Linked DNA regions of Homo sapiens: all the other regions are linked to region 1. Evidence: promoter capture Hi-C in 16 types of primary human blood cells and fetal thymus (Javierre and others, 2016). All regions are on one chromosome and are shown on one strand. The core of a region is centred on a gene start or on the middle of the fragment in contact, and the rest is flanking DNA. Distances in the headings are between cores, read along the strand shown. Region 1 holds the start of PTP4A1 (protein tyrosine phosphatase 4A1). Region 2 holds the start of LMBRD1 (LMBR1 domain containing 1). Region 3 holds the start of SDHAF4 (succinate dehydrogenase complex assembly factor 4). Region 4 holds the start of BAG2 (BAG cochaperone 2).

The links. The method cuts DNA at HindIII sites, captures the fragments that hold promoters and counts their contacts. A CHiCAGO score of 5 or more calls a contact.
Region 2: a contact is called between the fragment with the promoter of LMBRD1 here and a fragment that was not itself captured in region 1, in 1 of 17 cell types (non-activated CD4 T cells). The highest score is 5.4, in non-activated CD4 T cells.
Region 3: a contact is called between the fragment with the promoter of SDHAF4 here and a fragment that was not itself captured in region 1, in 1 of 17 cell types (total CD8 T cells). The highest score is 5.7, in total CD8 T cells.
Region 4: a contact is called between the fragment with the promoter of BAG2 here and a fragment that was not itself captured in region 1, in 2 of 17 cell types (naive CD8 T cells and total CD8 T cells). The highest score is 7.0, in naive CD8 T cells.

The regions. Positions count from the first base shown.
Region 1 is chr6:63,570,975-63,574,645 of GRCh38, forward strand. PTP4A1 (protein tyrosine phosphatase 4A1) reads left to right here and starts at 1,506. Exons shown (of 6, transcript NM_003463.5): 1 at 1,506-1,745. LOC124901228 (translation initiation factor IF-2-like) reads right to left here and starts at 2,594. Exons shown (of 2, transcript XM_047419610.1): 1 at 2,558-2,594; 2 at 1-2,456. The coding sequence starts at 2,594. The coding sequence ends at 1,711. It overlaps LOC128125822, which reads left to right and starts at 1,506. Exons shown (of 2, transcript NM_001415059.2): 1 at 1,506-1,745. The coding sequence starts at 1,707. It also overlaps a transcript of LGSN not described here. RefSeq lists enhancers at 492-1,229, 1,230-1,965, 1,290-1,584, 1,966-2,701, 2,638-3,007 and 1 more and silencers at 1,248-1,667, 1,968-2,097. The HindIII fragment of the contact is 3,322 bases long and covers 1-3,313 here.
Region 2 is chr6:69,795,536-69,799,308 of GRCh38, forward strand. It overlaps LMBRD1 (LMBR1 domain containing 1), which reads right to left and starts at 1,475. Exons shown (of 16, transcript NM_018368.4): 1 at 1,278-1,475. The coding sequence starts at 1,346. RefSeq lists enhancers at 426-982, 807-856, 983-1,538, 1,167-1,396. The HindIII fragment of the contact is 19,066 bases long and covers 1-3,773 here.
Region 3 is chr6:70,565,228-70,569,276 of GRCh38, forward strand. It overlaps SDHAF4 (succinate dehydrogenase complex assembly factor 4), which reads left to right and starts at 1,703. Exons shown (of 3, transcript NM_145267.3): 1 at 1,703-1,777. The coding sequence starts at 1,714. RefSeq lists a silencer at 1,991-2,050. The HindIII fragment of the contact is 5,796 bases long and covers 1,004-4,049 here.
Region 4 is chr6:57,170,082-57,174,029 of GRCh38, forward strand. It overlaps BAG2 (BAG cochaperone 2), which reads left to right and starts at 2,245. Exons shown (of 3, transcript NM_004282.4): 1 at 2,245-2,729. The coding sequence starts at 2,617. ZNF451-AS1 (ZNF451 regulatory antisense RNA 1) reads right to left here and starts at 2,132. Exons shown (of 4, transcript NR_110742.1): 1 at 1,993-2,132; 2 at 924-1,017. ZNF451 (zinc finger protein 451) reads left to right here. Exons shown (of 15, transcript NM_001031623.3): 15 at 1-224. RefSeq lists silencers at 2,258-2,337, 2,388-2,657 and an enhancer at 2,392-3,149. The HindIII fragment of the contact is 6,211 bases long and covers 1-3,948 here.

The sequences.
Region 1 (3,671 bases), core at 403-2,902:
TATTTTCTTAGAATTTAAGATTTTAAAGTCTTTACTTTTTTAAATCATTTATTTGTAAAGGGACATATTTCTCAAGTGTGCTAGTTTTCCTTGATTTTAATGGATTAAAATGTGTCGTAGGTGAGCCATTTTCTTCCAAATGACGAAGAGTTTTTGTTCCTTTGAAAGTCTGGCCCAGGATTTTGTTTGTTTTTGTTTTTTTAAAGTTCTTATTTTACTTACAGAGTTAAGAAAGTTGAATAACTATACAACCAGTCTCTAAATAGAAGTTCTAATAAATCCTAAGATGTTGCAGGGCACTGAAAGAGGACAAAATTTGATCCCTAAAGCCCTCTCCAATCTCATACTCGGTGAAAATAACAAACAAAAGGCTTCAGTGTTAGTGGAAAACTGAGTTCTTAAAAAGCAGGTAAAGGTCCTGTTTGGTCCTTCTCCAGAGCTGAGGAGAAAGGGTTTTCAGATTATAAATAACAGAGGTGCCCTTGTATGGCACAGAATTGCGATAAGACTTTACTTCTTAGGGGCTTAAATAATGAAGTCAGTAAAAGAGGACTGAAAACGAACATAAAGAAGAGCTTTAGCTTTGACGCAAAGAATTACATCAGTGCTTGACAAAACCGAGGATTCTTAATTTCTAAAAACGCTTTCTTTAAGCACTTCCTAACCTTTCATTATCTGAGACAACATATCAAGTGAGCAGCAGTACAAAGGATGCATGTGATTTCGAAATGCCACAATTGAGCCAACTGCAGTTGCACGCGTACGTAGTATAGAGAGGTGTGATCAAAAAAAGAATATAGGGAGCATAGGGCTTCGTCTGCATCAAAAGATACTCTCCCCATCTTCTATAGCCTTAAGTTTTGCGAAGGTAAGTTTCTCCCCGCTTGAAAGCGCCCCCAGGGACAAGAATTCATCTTGACCAAGCCTAAGGCCGTGGCATGCAAGGTGTTGAGTCACCGGGTACAGCGGTCTTGCGACATAAATATTATTTGATGACGAAGGTACTCGGGGCCCAGGTGCCAAGGTAAACCACTGGCAAAGATGACCGTGGTTAAGGCAGTAGAAAGCAGGCTCGACACTGAGACGCGGTTCCAGCCCTAGAAGGATTGCATTTTACGATTCAGGCAAACTTCGAGTCTCCTCATGTGACATGTGTGCACTCCTGGACCGTTTTAATTATGAGAAACGTGGTTTGCAGCATGATTCCTTCCAGTCGATAAATCGGAATCTCTCTCGCTCCCACCCCTTCTTAACTTCAGGCTTCCTGCATCCCGGAGCACTCCCGGCAGCCCCTTCCCTCCCCCGCCCCGGGGATGCTCCGACTCGGCGCTTAGCCATTCATCAACCGGTTCACACCGGCGGCGGCCGCCGCGGAGTGACGTCCGGAGGGGGCGGGCCTCCGCCCCCGCCTGTCGGCTCCTGGCCCGCGGTTCCAGGCCGCGATTGGTGGCTGGAGGGTTGCACGTCGCGCCGGCTATAAAGGGGAGGGCTTGTGACGCAAGGGCGCCTCGGCGCGTGTATTGGCTCCTTCGGCTGCGGGCCGGCTCGGCTACGCGCTCTGCTCCGAGCCGCTCACTGCATGGTAGAGTCTGGTGCCCCCGCCGCCGCCTGCATCGCCGCCACCGCCGCTCCGCCACGACCACCGCCGCCTCCTGCCCTGCAGCCACCGCCACCGCCTGTGTCGCCGCCGCCTCGGGACCGGCTGTATGATTAGGCCACAATCTTCAATGAGTAAACATATTCCTGTGAGTAGCCGTCGCATCGTCGCCTCTCGGGCTGGGAATCCACGACCGGCCCCCCATCCCCGCTGTCGCCTTTGTTCGGAGCCCGGCGTCTCCTCCAGGTTGCCCCGGGTTGCGGTTCCGGTGGGTCCCGGGTGGGAGCGGGCGGGTTATGGCCCTGTGGCCGGCCGATTGCGGCCGGCTGTGCGGAGGCAGATGCCGGGCCCCTCGGGGCTGCGGGGTGGCGGTTGGCCGCCGGAGGCACCGGCTTTTGAGTCCCTCCCGAGCCCGGAGCGACGGGGGCGGCGCGGTCCGGCTTCTGCGGCGGCCGGGGGCAGTTTCGGCTTCCGCAGCGGGCCGGGTGGGTGGCACAAAAGCCGCTTTGTGACCGCCGCCTCCGCCCTTGGCCCTTTGGTCTGGCGCGACCCGTCCGGGCATGGCAGGCTCCGCGGCGTCCCGGGGCCTCTTTGTTCGGCCGGAGGAGAGTGGCTGCACTGGGAGCGGGAGACGTGGCCCGGGGTGGGGCGAGGGCTGCGCGTGTCACTGCGGAGCCGGATACGGGGAGGGCGCGGCGGTGGCGGGTTCGCCTCCAGATCCGGGCGGGCGTGGGGTAGGCCGGACAGCCAGGCACGGGTGGTAACGATCTGGTTCCAGAGCTTCTCGGAGCTCCGGGGTGGGCGCGGGACAGCCACTGGGTGCAGCTACACTCTTGTGCTCGACGGCCGGGACCCGAGCCTCAGACAAAATGGCCTCGGCGCCCGCGCCTGACTGAAGGCGCGGCGCGAACCCGTGATTGCGGCGCGGAGAGGGGGCGCAGCGGGCGTGCTCGGGCGCACACAGCCGCGTGCGCGGGGCGGCGGCCCTCTGGGGCATTCCGCGAGCTGCACCCCTGCCCGGGCCAGAGTGGGGTTCTGCTAGGTGAGAACTTCGGCCGTCCGCCCCGCCCTCCTCCCAGGCTCCACCTGGTAATTCGAGCTGTTCCGGATTTATCGCCCCACCTCGGGCTCGTGATAATGGGAACAAGTCTAGTCTTGTCCTTTCTCTGGGCCAGTCGTCGAGAAATGGCCTGGTTCGGAGCGTCTTGGAAACTGACAGGGCTACTGTTAGTTACACTGACGCGAAGGACTTCCCGTCCGGGCACCAGCATACATTTCCCCTGCCAATTTTGGAAGGGCCCTGGATGGCGCCTTTTAATCGGGGACTGTTTAGAACTATCCCTGAGCTCTGTGGTGTAATATGTTGTTGCCTCCTGTTGGTTTGTGGCAGCAGTAGCCAACCAGAGACGGAATTCTGAGGGTTTTTTATCTTCTGTCCGCGGAGCCCCCTACCAGTCCACGAGTATTAAGTTATTTACACTACGATTGGAACTGTTGACCTGCCCGACATCTAGATCCTGAGGCAGTGCTTCCTGTTACTCAGTCAGTTGAAAACTAGAAAACTAAATCATTCCCAAGAGTGAGCAGCATTTTACACATGCTTTCTTAGGTGCCCTAAGACCTAAATAGATGTGGAACAGACTATACAACGAATTGTTTGTGACAAAGGAGTTACACACATTAATTGGCTTGACTCTGCAGTATAATAATGATTTAAGCTTCTGCACAGAGATTACTCTTTCCTCCTCTCCCTTCTTGTATATGATTGTGATTATAATGCAACTGATAGGTGGGAGGGAAAAAATCCCCATTATGGATAGTTTTTCCTGTGGGTAGGAGATTGGGAATGGAGGAGTGTCTTGGGCGGAACAGAAATCTATCGGTGGCCACCACTGCTTTAACAGACGAGTCCCCCCATCCACTAGGTGGCTCCACTCAGTAAAAATAACCATTTCAGGAAGGGAATTCTTAATATAGTTCTTTCTCTGCTTCCTGATGAAAGTGCTTACTTACATGAAGGGATATGGCCAGACTAGGTTGTAGCCGACAGGAGTTTTAGCTATTAAATATGGAA
Region 2 (3,773 bases), core at 225-2,724, 6.2 Mb after region 1:
TCACGTAACTTTCATACATTACATGCTTATTTATTTTTTTCTAAACAAACTAAATCTGATGGACTGGAAAAGCCAGGGGGCTCTCCAAATACAGGACTGGGTGGCTGCAGAGACCACAGTCAACCTTTAGGGTTTCATTTCCTCCAAGAGAGGACTAACATGTTCCAGGGTAAAGGCAGTGTTTTTATCTGTGACAGTGATGGCAGTAACAAGAGGATCCTTTTCTTAAATTTTCACACCATTCTTTTCTTTTATTTTCTTTTTTTAGTCTCTACTGCAAAAATCTACTAGAACATACTACATAGGTACCAGACACCAACTGGATCTGACAATTAAAGTAAAACCAAACAAGCCTGATTTCCAGAACTGGAGGTTTTTGTTTTGCAATGCAAAAAGGTCAAAATACGTGAGAACAGAAAGTAACTACAGCCTCGGACGATGAGAAAAGAGAAGATTTGAGAAGGTAGAGAAGTTATGAAAGGAAATAAATTGAACTCCCAAATAAACCAAAGGGTTTTAATATGAACAGGGAAGTAATAGCCAGGCCACTCTGAGACATTTCTATCTACACTTTGCTCACTGAATATGCAGAAATAAGATCGTTGGAAAAGAAAGCACCTGAGGTCAGACAGGTAGTAGTATATACTCCGATACTGGTAATAAAGAGGGCTACAGCTCCGCCCTCCACAGGTATCTACACCAATCAAAAAAAGATTAGAAGAGAATGTGACACCTGGAAGTCAGAACGAGCAACTCACGTCATCAAGGCAGAATCACACAATGGGCACAGAGGTTGGAGACTCACTAGCCCCAAGGGTAGGGAAAATGAGGGAAAAAACATACAGAGAAGGTGACAAGTAAACAACGCCAGCGCCTACTTAACTTGCAAAGATCCAGCGCTGCCGCCCCACACCGTGTGACAATGTTTTACAGGGGACGAAAGGCCACCACATACTTCTCAACCCCGAGGGTCTCTTCCGCCCCCAAACCCCACCGGCCCCATTGCCCAAGTCAGCGATGACGGCAAGAGCTTCCAAAAAGGACCCTGCAACCCTAGACGTCATCGGTGAAATGACAGCAAAAGAGACCGGAAATCGACACCCCCCTGCCCCCGCCGCCCGCCCAAGCCCCCAACACTAAGGAGCCCTCCACAGTCCAAGCTAAAAGCGGGGCGGGGCGAAGAGGGTCTCCGGGGCCCGGAGAGGCCAACTGCAGGGCCTGCCCCTCCCTTCCTCCCCCAGTCCAAACATGGGGAAAACTCCAAGCGCCTCCCCTACCAGTAGTAAGAGGCCGAATATGCACCAGCCGATCACCAGCTCCGCCGAGGCCGCGCCAGAAGTCGCCATCTTCGCTTCCGGTCCAGACCAACCTGAGCGCCCGGGGTGGGGAAAGGGGAGGGGGAAAGGGGAGAGAGCGCGAGATATACTGCACCCGCGCACCCTAAAGGTTAAAGGGGCGGAGGGGGAGGAGCAAGTGGTTGCCAAGGAGACTGGACCCACTAGCGTCCCCTGGCGGCGAGCCGAGCGGGGGCGGGGCAGCAAGGACTGCTCAGGGGCGGGGCGCGTGCGGACGCAGTGACATCACCACGCTGCCCTCGCTGGCTTCCCTGCAAGCTGAGATGTGGGAGGGCTGCAGAGCAGGGTGTTGGCTCATAGCTGGGCAACCTATTGAGATATTTGACTCAGCCTAAGTTGATAGACTAGAACAGCAAGGGAACTCCACAAAGAATGGGCTAGGTGGACCTGGAGATCCAAGTCAATTTTAGAGGTTTATACTTCTTCACCAAAAGGAAGTTTGGCCCTCGTGTACAAGGTGGAATGTGTGTGATTAGCAGAACTCCTTACCAGGTTGCAAGAATGGCTGATGTCAGGCCTCTGAGCCCAAGCTAAGCCATCATATCCCCAGTGACCTTCACGTATACATCCAGCTGGCCTGAAGCAACTGAAGATCCACAGAAGTGAAAATAGCTTAGCTGATGACATTCCACCATTGTGATTTGTTTCTGCCCCACCCTAACTGATCAATGTTCTTTATAATCTCCCCCACCCTTAAGAAGTTTCTTTGTAATTCTCCCCACCCTTGAGAATGTACTTTGTGAGATCTACCCCCTACCCCCAAAACATTGCTCTTCACTCCACCTCCTATCCGAAAAACTGTAAGAACCAATGATAATCCCACCACCCTTTGCCGACTCTCTTTTCGGACTCAGCCCGCCTGCACCCATGTGAAATAAACAGCCATGTTGCTCACACAAAGCCTGTTTGGTGGTCTCTTCACACGGACGCATGAGACAGCTGACTCTGAATAAAAGTTGACTAGCTGCCCAAATCACTCTAATTTACTGGCACTGGTGCCCAGCCGGGATAACTGGTTGGCTGGACATGAACTTATCACATGATGTTATAGCCTTTCTATTCAGATGTATGCATGCCTGTGAATTTCCATGATAGCTTTGTATGTAAAGGTATATGCATCAGCAAACAAAACACACTGCCATAGGCCCACAATGAAGAAGAAGGAGGAAACTCTTGGGATGGCTTACCTGAGTCCACAGGGAGGAAACTCTTGGGATGGCTTACCTGAGTCCACAGGGGTGTGAGTGCATGTTTCACCACTGTGATGTAGTCAAGAAACAACTCTGAGAAAAAATACCATCATCTTTTTCCAATGTATTATGTGGTGATGAGTTATGCTCTACCTATAATCTACTTCCGGCTGGAAGCCTGAGGGAAAAAATAGGATGGTCCTTCCTGCCTGGACAGAATAAGAAGGGAATAGGGGAGAATACAGTTTTAACTTGAACTGGTACCATCATAAGCTGGCTTTAAGCCCTCTAGACCTGCAAATGTTTGAATTTCACTCTTTCTTCCTAATAATTCATATCCCTGGAGACCTCTGTCATAGCTTCCTTAAAGTGAAGAGAGGTATCGCTTCCAGGTTGATATCTCTATTCCAGATTGTATAGAGCACCCTTGACATAAGTAACTACTTCTTAGAAAAAGATTCTGTTTACATTTCAAAAGGAATCATGCCAAAAGGGACCAGATGTTCACCTAATCAATAGAGACTGCACCCAACCAGATAACGACATAACCAGGCACACTCTTTTATTATTATTATTATTATTATTATTATTATTATTATACTTTAAGTTCTAGGGTACATGTGCACAACGTGCAGATTTGTTACATATGCATACATGTGCCATGTTGAGGTGCTGCACCCATTAACTAGTCTTACATCAGGTATATCTCCTAATGCTATCCCTCCCCACTTTCCCCCACCCTACAACAGGGCCCAGTGTGTGATGTTCCCCTTCCTGTGTCCAAGTGTTCTCATTGTTCAATTCCCACCTATGAGTGAGAACATGTGGTGTTTGGTTTTCTGTCCTTGCAATAGTTTGCTGAGAATGATGTTTTCCAGCTTCATCCATGTCCCTACAAAGAACATGAACTCATCCTTTTTTATGGCTGCATAGTATTCCATGGTGTATATGTGCCACATTTTCTTAATCCAGTCTATCACTGATGGACATTTCAGTTGGTTCCAAGTATTTGCTATTGCAGGCACACTCTTTACTATCAGTCAACACCAGAGGACTCTGAGGCTATAAAAAGAGTAGAACTTCAACAGCTCAAGATAGCCATCTTAACAGACACTGTCTTACTGTCACTCATGATCAGCATCTAGCATCTGCCACCAAAGGTTCTGCTCAAATCAAAGACTCTTCCTTGCAAAATGTTGATATGCATCCTGATCAGCCGAGGACACTC
Region 3 (4,049 bases), core at 453-2,952, 7.0 Mb after region 1:
TTCATGCTTTGGGACCACTTTGAGAGGTCCTATTCCAAAGACCCAGTCCAAAACTTTTACATTCCCAGTTCCCAGCCACTTGACAAACCAGTCACTGCCTATGAAATGTCGATTTTTATCTCAAGCCATGTCTCTTTTTAGGCAAAGCATACAAGATAAGCTAAATTCTGGCCAGGCACAGTGGCTCACACCTGTAATCCCAGCACTTTGGGAAGCTGAGAGGGGTGGATCCCTTGAGGCCAGGAGTTTGAAACCAGCCTGGTCAACATGGCGAAACCCTGTCTCTACTAAAAATAGAAAAATCAGCCAGGTGTGGTGACATGTGCCTGTAAAAACATAAAATACATAAATAAGCTAAATTATGCATGCTGGAAATAATTTTTTTTCCCTGTTCTGTTCCTTCAGGGCCTCTGTTAAGTGGGGCTCTAAATATGAAAAGCAGTCAGTTGCCAGCTGGGCCAGTTTATTGAGCAAAGCCATCATCCGACTTTGAATTTTTTCCTCAGTCAGCTAGTCACAAGGAATTCATTATTAAACTGTAGATATAAGCTAAAGGTCAAAAGCATGATATTAGGACTGTGAGCTCCCTACAAATGAAAACTGTTTCCGTTTTGACTTTGGCCCAGTTCTGTGTATCCCACTTTCTCTCTTTTTTCTTTTTCTGTTTTTGAGATGGAGTTTTGCTCTGTCTCCAAGGCTGGCGTGCAGTGGCGTGATCTCTGCTCACTGCAATCTCCGCCTCCCGAGTTCAAGCGATTCTTCTACCTCAGCCTCCCAAGTAGCTGGGATTACAGGAATGTGCCACCTCGCCCGGCTAATTTTTGTATTTTTAGTAGAGTGTTGGCCAGGCTGGTCTCGAACTCCTGACCTCAGGTAATCTACCCGCCTCGGCCTCCCAAAGTGTTCGGATTACAGGAGTGAGCCACCTTGCCCGGCCCACTTTCTCTTCGTAAAAGGATCTCCTTATCTAGGAGAACCAGATAATTCTCAGTTCATGATAAGAAGCTTCGATCGTATAACCACTTGATGTCACATGGTCAGACACTACCAAGGCGCAATAGCTAGCCAGAAACTTTTCTTTAAAAGAAAAGACAAAATTCCAGAATTCTGGGGGCCTTCACTATGATTCTGTAAATATTTCCACGAGTTGCACAAAGCATCCAGGTCTGCCACATCCACTCAACGCTATCAGAGCTGGTGGGATGTAAGGGTTAAGGGGCAGAGCTCATTGCACTGGATCCTGGCCTGGATGGAGAGCCTTTTCTTGCTTTGCACCTCATTCAAAAATGTCGCCTTTCATATCATCTGGTTAGTCGGTCAGAATGGACGAACTAGGAGCTGACTGAACAAAGATTTAAAACACAAAACAGGGAGAATTAGGTAAAAGAAGCATTTTACATGAGTGAGAGAGTAAAAGGTGCTCAATCTTTGTAAACTATAAAAGGGATCTTCCACGGGCCATTTCGGCTCAGACTGACAAGCATGAACGGAACGGAATTATTCCCTCTTCTAACTGCAGCCACGATTTGGCGTTTTAACACCGGGCTCAAGGTAGCCTGGGTCTCTCTTGGCCAAAGAGCCCAGGGATGCCTCTAACTCCTTTTCTAAAGCCGGCCACGGAGGCCCCGCCCTCTGCAGGGAGGCTCCGGATCATGCCCCCTGCTCCTCCCACTACTGCTTTGCGCCTGCGCGGAGGCTCGGGGAGTCGGCGCCATGACCCCATCGAGGCTTCCCTGGTTGCTTAGCTGGGTCTCGGCCACGGCGTGGAGAGCGGCAAGTAAGCACCTGGCCTCGGGGCCACGGTCGCGGGAGGGGTCGTGAAGGCCCAGGCGCAGAGAGAAGCGCCTCCCGCGGAGGAAGCCGCGTGTGTCCTGGCCGTTCGGTGTTGCCAGGGGCTGCCCAGCTTCTCCCGCCCAGCCGCCCACCCGGTGGCCTGGGCAGGTTCCTGCAGCGCCCCGGGTCTCGGGTGGGACTAGAGCGAGAAAATCGCTAAGGCCCTTTCAGCCCCCGGGACGTCCGCTTCCTACCGAGCACGCGGTGGCCCAACAGGACCACAAACGTTCCGGGTTGTTCCTGTGGGAGCTCGCAGGGCACACCGCACTTCGATGCCCCAGAGAAAAATGGAAAAGAAGGCCCTTTGGGAATGGGAGTCATTGATTTACTTATTTATTTACATCATTATTTACAGGAATCCGCGCTCCTGGTCCAGGCTCCAGCAGAAAAGGATTTGTGGCAGTTTACAGTTTATCTTTTAAAAATGGGAAAAGTGCAGAAGTGAGCCAAAGGCAAATAAGTATAACGTAAATTAGATGAAGCCAGGAATTGTCAGTACAGAAAAAGCATTCATGCTTTCAGTAAAACCAACATTTTTAAACCCATTGTTGTTGGAAATTTTTCTCAAGATAATACAGTTAGCAGCCCAGACTATGCAAAACATAATTTTATTTATTTATTTATTTATTTGTTTATTTATTTTGAGATGGAGTCTCGCTCTGTCCCTCAGGCTGGAGTGCAGTGGCGCAATCTCGGCTCACTGCAAGCTCTGCCTCCCAGGTTCACGCCATTCTCCTGCCTCAGCCTCCTGAGTAGCTGGGACTACAGGCGCCCGCCACCGTGCCTGACTAATTTTTTGTATTTTTAGTAGAGACGGGGTTTCACCGTGTTAGCCAGGATGGTCTCGATCTCCTGACCTTGTGATCCGCTCGCCTCGGCCTCCCAAAGTGCTGGGATTACAGGCGTGAGCCACCGCGCCCGGTCCGCAAAACATAATTTTAATATATGACACCTGGAGAAGTTATGTAAGTTGAAAACAGTAATTATTGCCCTCAAATGGTGCCAGATTTCTATGCAATTTGTTTTCCTTTGTGCAATCATTTTACCCAAATACAAACATTTTACTTAATTGTATAAGTTTTAAATAGTCCAGAAATGAATAATACAGAAAGTGAAAGTCCTACATTATCCAAACCTCAAGGTAATAACGTTAAAATTTTGTAGGGTTCATTCAACATCCCCCTTTAACTAGTTTTAAACAATTATGAATTATTCCATATATATATATGTATACACACACACACACGTAGCACACATGTAAGCTATGTAGCAGTCATGTAAGCTATGAAGCACAACCAGCATCTATGAACTTATACTCCAATTTAAGAAATAGTCTCTATTGCCAAGGAGGTCTCTATTTGCTGCTTCCTGATACAACTGTGCAATGGTGTTTTTAATCTTTATAGAAATGTTTTCATATTGTTGATTTTTTTTCAGATAACGCTGTGTTTTGTGATTGAGTCACATTGACGCATGAGGTTGTAGTTATTCATTCAACTGTGTGAACATATGATGCATTTTCCAGTGCCCTTCTCAAAGGACATTTGGGTAATTCCAGAAACACTAGGATTGGGTGCTACACATTCTTGTGTACCTTATTTGTGCATTAGTGGAAGGAGTAGAATTCCTGGAGTATGTTATAGGTCTTTTCATTGTTACAATATAATGCCAAGGTGTAACGGCATTTTCTAATTCTATAGCAATTTTCACTTCTACCAGCAGTGTATTGGAGTTCTGTTGTTCCACAAACTTGCCGAAACTTAATTTTGCCTTAGGTTTTAATTTTTGGCTGCCTACAGGGAAATGAAATGACACCTCATTGTGATTTTGCTTTTCTCTGATTAAAGAAGTAAAACATCTTTTCAAATATTCACTTTTTGTGAAATACCTCTTTCTTTTTTCTTTTTTTTTTTTTTTTTTTTTGAGGCGGAGTTTCGCTCTGTCGCCCGGGCTGGAGTGCAGTGGCGCGATCTCGACTCACTGCAAGCTCCGCCTCCTGGGTTCACGCCATTCTCCTGCCTCAGCCTCCCGTGTAGCTGGGACTACAGGCGCGCGCCACCACGCCCGGCTAATTTTTGTATTTTTAGTAGAGACGGGGTTTCACCGTGTTAGCCAGGATGGTCTCGATCTCCTGACCTCGTGATCCGCCCGTCTCGGCCTCCCAAAGTGCTGGGATTACAGGCGTGAGCCACCGCACCCGGCCTCTTTTTTCTTTC
Region 4 (3,948 bases), core at 995-3,494, 6.4 Mb before region 1:
GAAAGGGATATTTCATCATGACTGTTAAGAAAAGGTAACTGGGTTGTTTAATGTTTTAATTGATAATTGTCACTGATCGTATTTCTACTTGTTAAATAATTAAAAATCATCTTAAAATTCATACTTTGACTTTAATTTAGACACAAGGAGATGTAATCGCTGTGTAACATCAGAGAAAGCTATATGGATTATCGTCAGAAGTAAATGTTTCTAACATTGACAAAGATGCTTATCTTTTCATTACATCATTCACTCATTAATTCATTCAATCACAAAATATTGAGTACCCACCATGTGCCAGCAACTGTTCTAAGCACTTGGAATATACCAGTAAGCAAAACAAAGCCCTTACCCCTCTGTGGAGCACATATTGGTGGAGAGGAGGGGATTGTACAATGTTAGTAAGCAAGGCAATAAAACTGCATATCTGATGGTGATACGTGTAACGACGGAAAATAAAGAAGGGAAGGGAATAAATAGTGCAGGGACAGGGAGTTGGGGGGAGGCTTGCTATTTTTAATAGGGTTGTCAGAAAAGATCTCACTGATAGGTAAACTTGAGCAAAGACCTGAAGAAGGTGAGGGAATGAGGATGAAAATACATATCGGGAAGAGAGTTCCAGGTGGAGGAGGTTAAGGTCCAGACAGGAGCTTAGTATATTCAAGGAAAAGCAAGAAGACTAGTATGGCTGACAGGATGAGCTAGGAGAGTAATAGGAAATGAACTTACTGAGGTTTTTCTAATGACCTGGGCTTTTACTTTGAGGTAAGGAGCCAGTGAAGGTTTCTGAGAATAAATGGTATGATCTGCCTTATTTAGGATTGCTGTAGTTGCTGCACTGAGATAACATGTACATGAGAGGCAAGAGTAGAAGCAGGGAGACCAGAGAGGAAGGTATTGTAGTATTCCAGGTGCAAACTCACCAGGTAGCTTGAACCAGAATGGTGGCGGTAGAATTGGGAAGAATCTGGATATATTCTGAAGGCAAAATTGATGGGGTTTACTAATGGTGTGGATCTAGGATAAGAGAGAAAAAGAGTTCAGGATGATTCTAAAGTCACTTGATAGACTTTCAAACCACTCACAAAATGTGTTTTGTTTTCGTTTGTGTCATGATAAAGTTATTTTTAATAAGGTCAAATAATCCCCTACCCCAAGAGTTAATTAGGATTTAAAATGAGTTCAGAGGGAATTGGGATCCAGCCTTAAGGGCTTCAACTCTGTTCAAGTATTTAAATGGCTTTGATCTCTGATTAAAGGTGGTGGCTCAGCTTTAAACTATTATTATCTATCATTTTCTGTGCCCTGTACATTGTCATCCTTGCAATGAGAGGCATAGAGCTATCAGGAGAGGGGACTAAAGCCTAACTTTTTAAGTAGACTAATCTTTGTATCCTCAGCTCTATTCCGTCTTTTACCGACAGCTGGTGCCTGACCTAGAGGCCTACTGCATCTTTTTTGTTAACAGGATTTTTAAAAGTTGAGGACTTTTTAATGCCAATTATTTCACTCAGAATATTTATTTATTTATTTATTTTTTTGAGACAAGGTCTCGCTCTATCGCCCAGGCTGGAGTGCAGTGGCGAGATCTCGGCTCGCTCAACAGGAATAATTTTAATAGCAAAAATTTAAAACCCCTTCATTAAGCCAGGCGTGGTGGTTCACATCTGTAATCCCAGCACTTTGGGAGGCTGAGGTGGGAGGACCGCTTGAACCCGGGAGGTCGAGGCTGCAGTAAGTCGTGATCGCGCCACTACACTCCAACGTGGGCGACAGTTAGACCCCATCTCAAAAACAAAAGAAAATTAGAATGGTAAAAATGAAGTAAATTCACTTTGCTTCCCACATCTAGCTAGACAGGGAAAGATGGAGTAGCTTTTTCTTTTTTACTTCATAGCTTCAGTGTTGTCCGGGCTTTCATTACTCTCATCTCAGTATAAAGTGGTAACAGGAAGGTCAGGTGAGTGTGGGCTGCCTACGAGCTGTACTTACTGCCTTCTGTTTCACAAAAGGACGTTTTCTCCCCATAATGTCGTTGTTCTTGCTTTGAATTATGGGTGCTGGGAGAAACTAAACGAAGCCGTCACTGAGCAATACACCCACAGCCCGTCGACCGATAGGAACCTTCGCGTGGGGGGAGTTGGTTACTTTTAGGTTGCATGAAGAGGCGGGGCCTCGCGGGGCGGAGCTGGGGGTGGTCTGTGGGTCCGCGCGGGCTTCGGGTAGTTCCTGGGTCCGGGGAGCAGACGATCCGCTAGCCACATTAGGCGCTCGGTCTCTGCGTCCGCCCCTCCCGTGCCTCAGAGACTTGCGCTCCCCAGGCCCGAGCCCCTGTCGGCCCATCCTCGAGCCCGTGTGGCTCGCGAACCTCTAACTCCAGCCGCTGCAGCCCCCTCCCAGGCCCGGCGTCCCCGAGCCCCGCGGGCGCCGCGCCTGCCCTTCTTTGGCTACGCTGCAGCCGCGGTGTCGGCGAGTCCTCCCGGGTTGCCCCCGCGGGCGTCAGAGGGAGGGCGGGCGCCCGCGTGGTGACGGCGACGCCTGCAGCCCAAGGAGCGCTCCACTCGCTGCCGCCGGAGGGGCCGGTGACCTCTTGGCTACCCCGCGTCGGAGGCTTAGATGGCTCAGGCGAAGATCAACGCTAAAGCCAACGAGGGGCGCTTCTGCCGCTCCTCCTCCATGGCTGACCGCTCCAGCCGCCTGCTGGAGAGCCTGGACCAGCTGGAGCTCAGGTGAGCTCCGGGCGGGCGGTCTCGGGCGTTCTGCTCGCCGCGCGGGCGGTTCGCGGGCGGTTAGCGGACGGAGGCCGCGTGTGGCGGGCCGGGGCCTGGGGCACAGTGAGGCTGCGGCAACCGAAGTTGCTTGTTGAGATTTGTTGTGGATGGACGTGGTGTAGTTTTGTTTGTTTCTTGGATTATCTCCCCTAGTCCGAGAGAAAACGCATTCGATTTAAGCTAAACCTGTGAGGGCGTTATCGGTGGCCACACTTTGATTAATTTACCTAGGTGTTAGGGAGCGGAAAAAAATCAGAGGAGATAAAAGTTACAGTGAGATTCCATGCGATTAAGGACTGTGGCAGCTTGGGTCTGCAGAACTTCTAGAACCTTCTGTGTGGCCCCAAACGTTTTAACTTACTCTTCTCGTTATGCATTTTTTAAGGGAGGCAGCAGTTTACAGTGGCCCTCCACGTGAAGTTAAGTTTCCTTGCTTCAGAACAAAAATGAATAAAACAAAACCAACCCAGCAATCCATTGAGAGCAAAGATTAGACAGGAGTGAGGGGTAGGCAGTAAGTTACCGGGTGCTTCGTGCAGCAGAGACGTTGCCGCTTCTGTTTCTCCCCTAACCTCGCGGACGGGATTCAGCGGTTCCGTTCGTCTCTCGGTATTTATTGGGCACCTCCCTACATAGAAGACTAAGTGCTAGTTACTGGCCTGAAAGCATGAAAAGATAGTTTTCCCCTTTTCTTGCTTAAGAATTTATTTGGTAATACAGTAGTAGACTTGTATAGAATTTCTAAACAATTTAATGTTAATAGATTTTTGGAAAGACTTTAACGGTGTATTGAAAAGTTTTATCTACTTCCTGTGAACGTTTGTCTCAAGTTACTGTGTAAATTTTGTGAGCAGGTGTAGTTAAAAGAAAATCTTGTTAGGCACCTGCAATTCCGTGAAACTGTACACAGGAGTTGGTTACATAGTTTTGTCTAGGTTGTGCATGAGCAAAGAAGCATGTGAGCCAAAAAGTTTAGGAAACACTGCATGTGTGTCTTTATCTTCCTACATTAATACACCCAAACATGAAGTATCTGTTTGCTGAGAAAATACTTCAATAACCACGGTATCTCTTAACAAGTGAGGCATTATTATTGTTACTATTGGGAGAAAAGAGCCAGAGAGTGAGAGATTCTCCACTCAAAATAATTTCTTGGATTATTAAGCCCTACACCAGG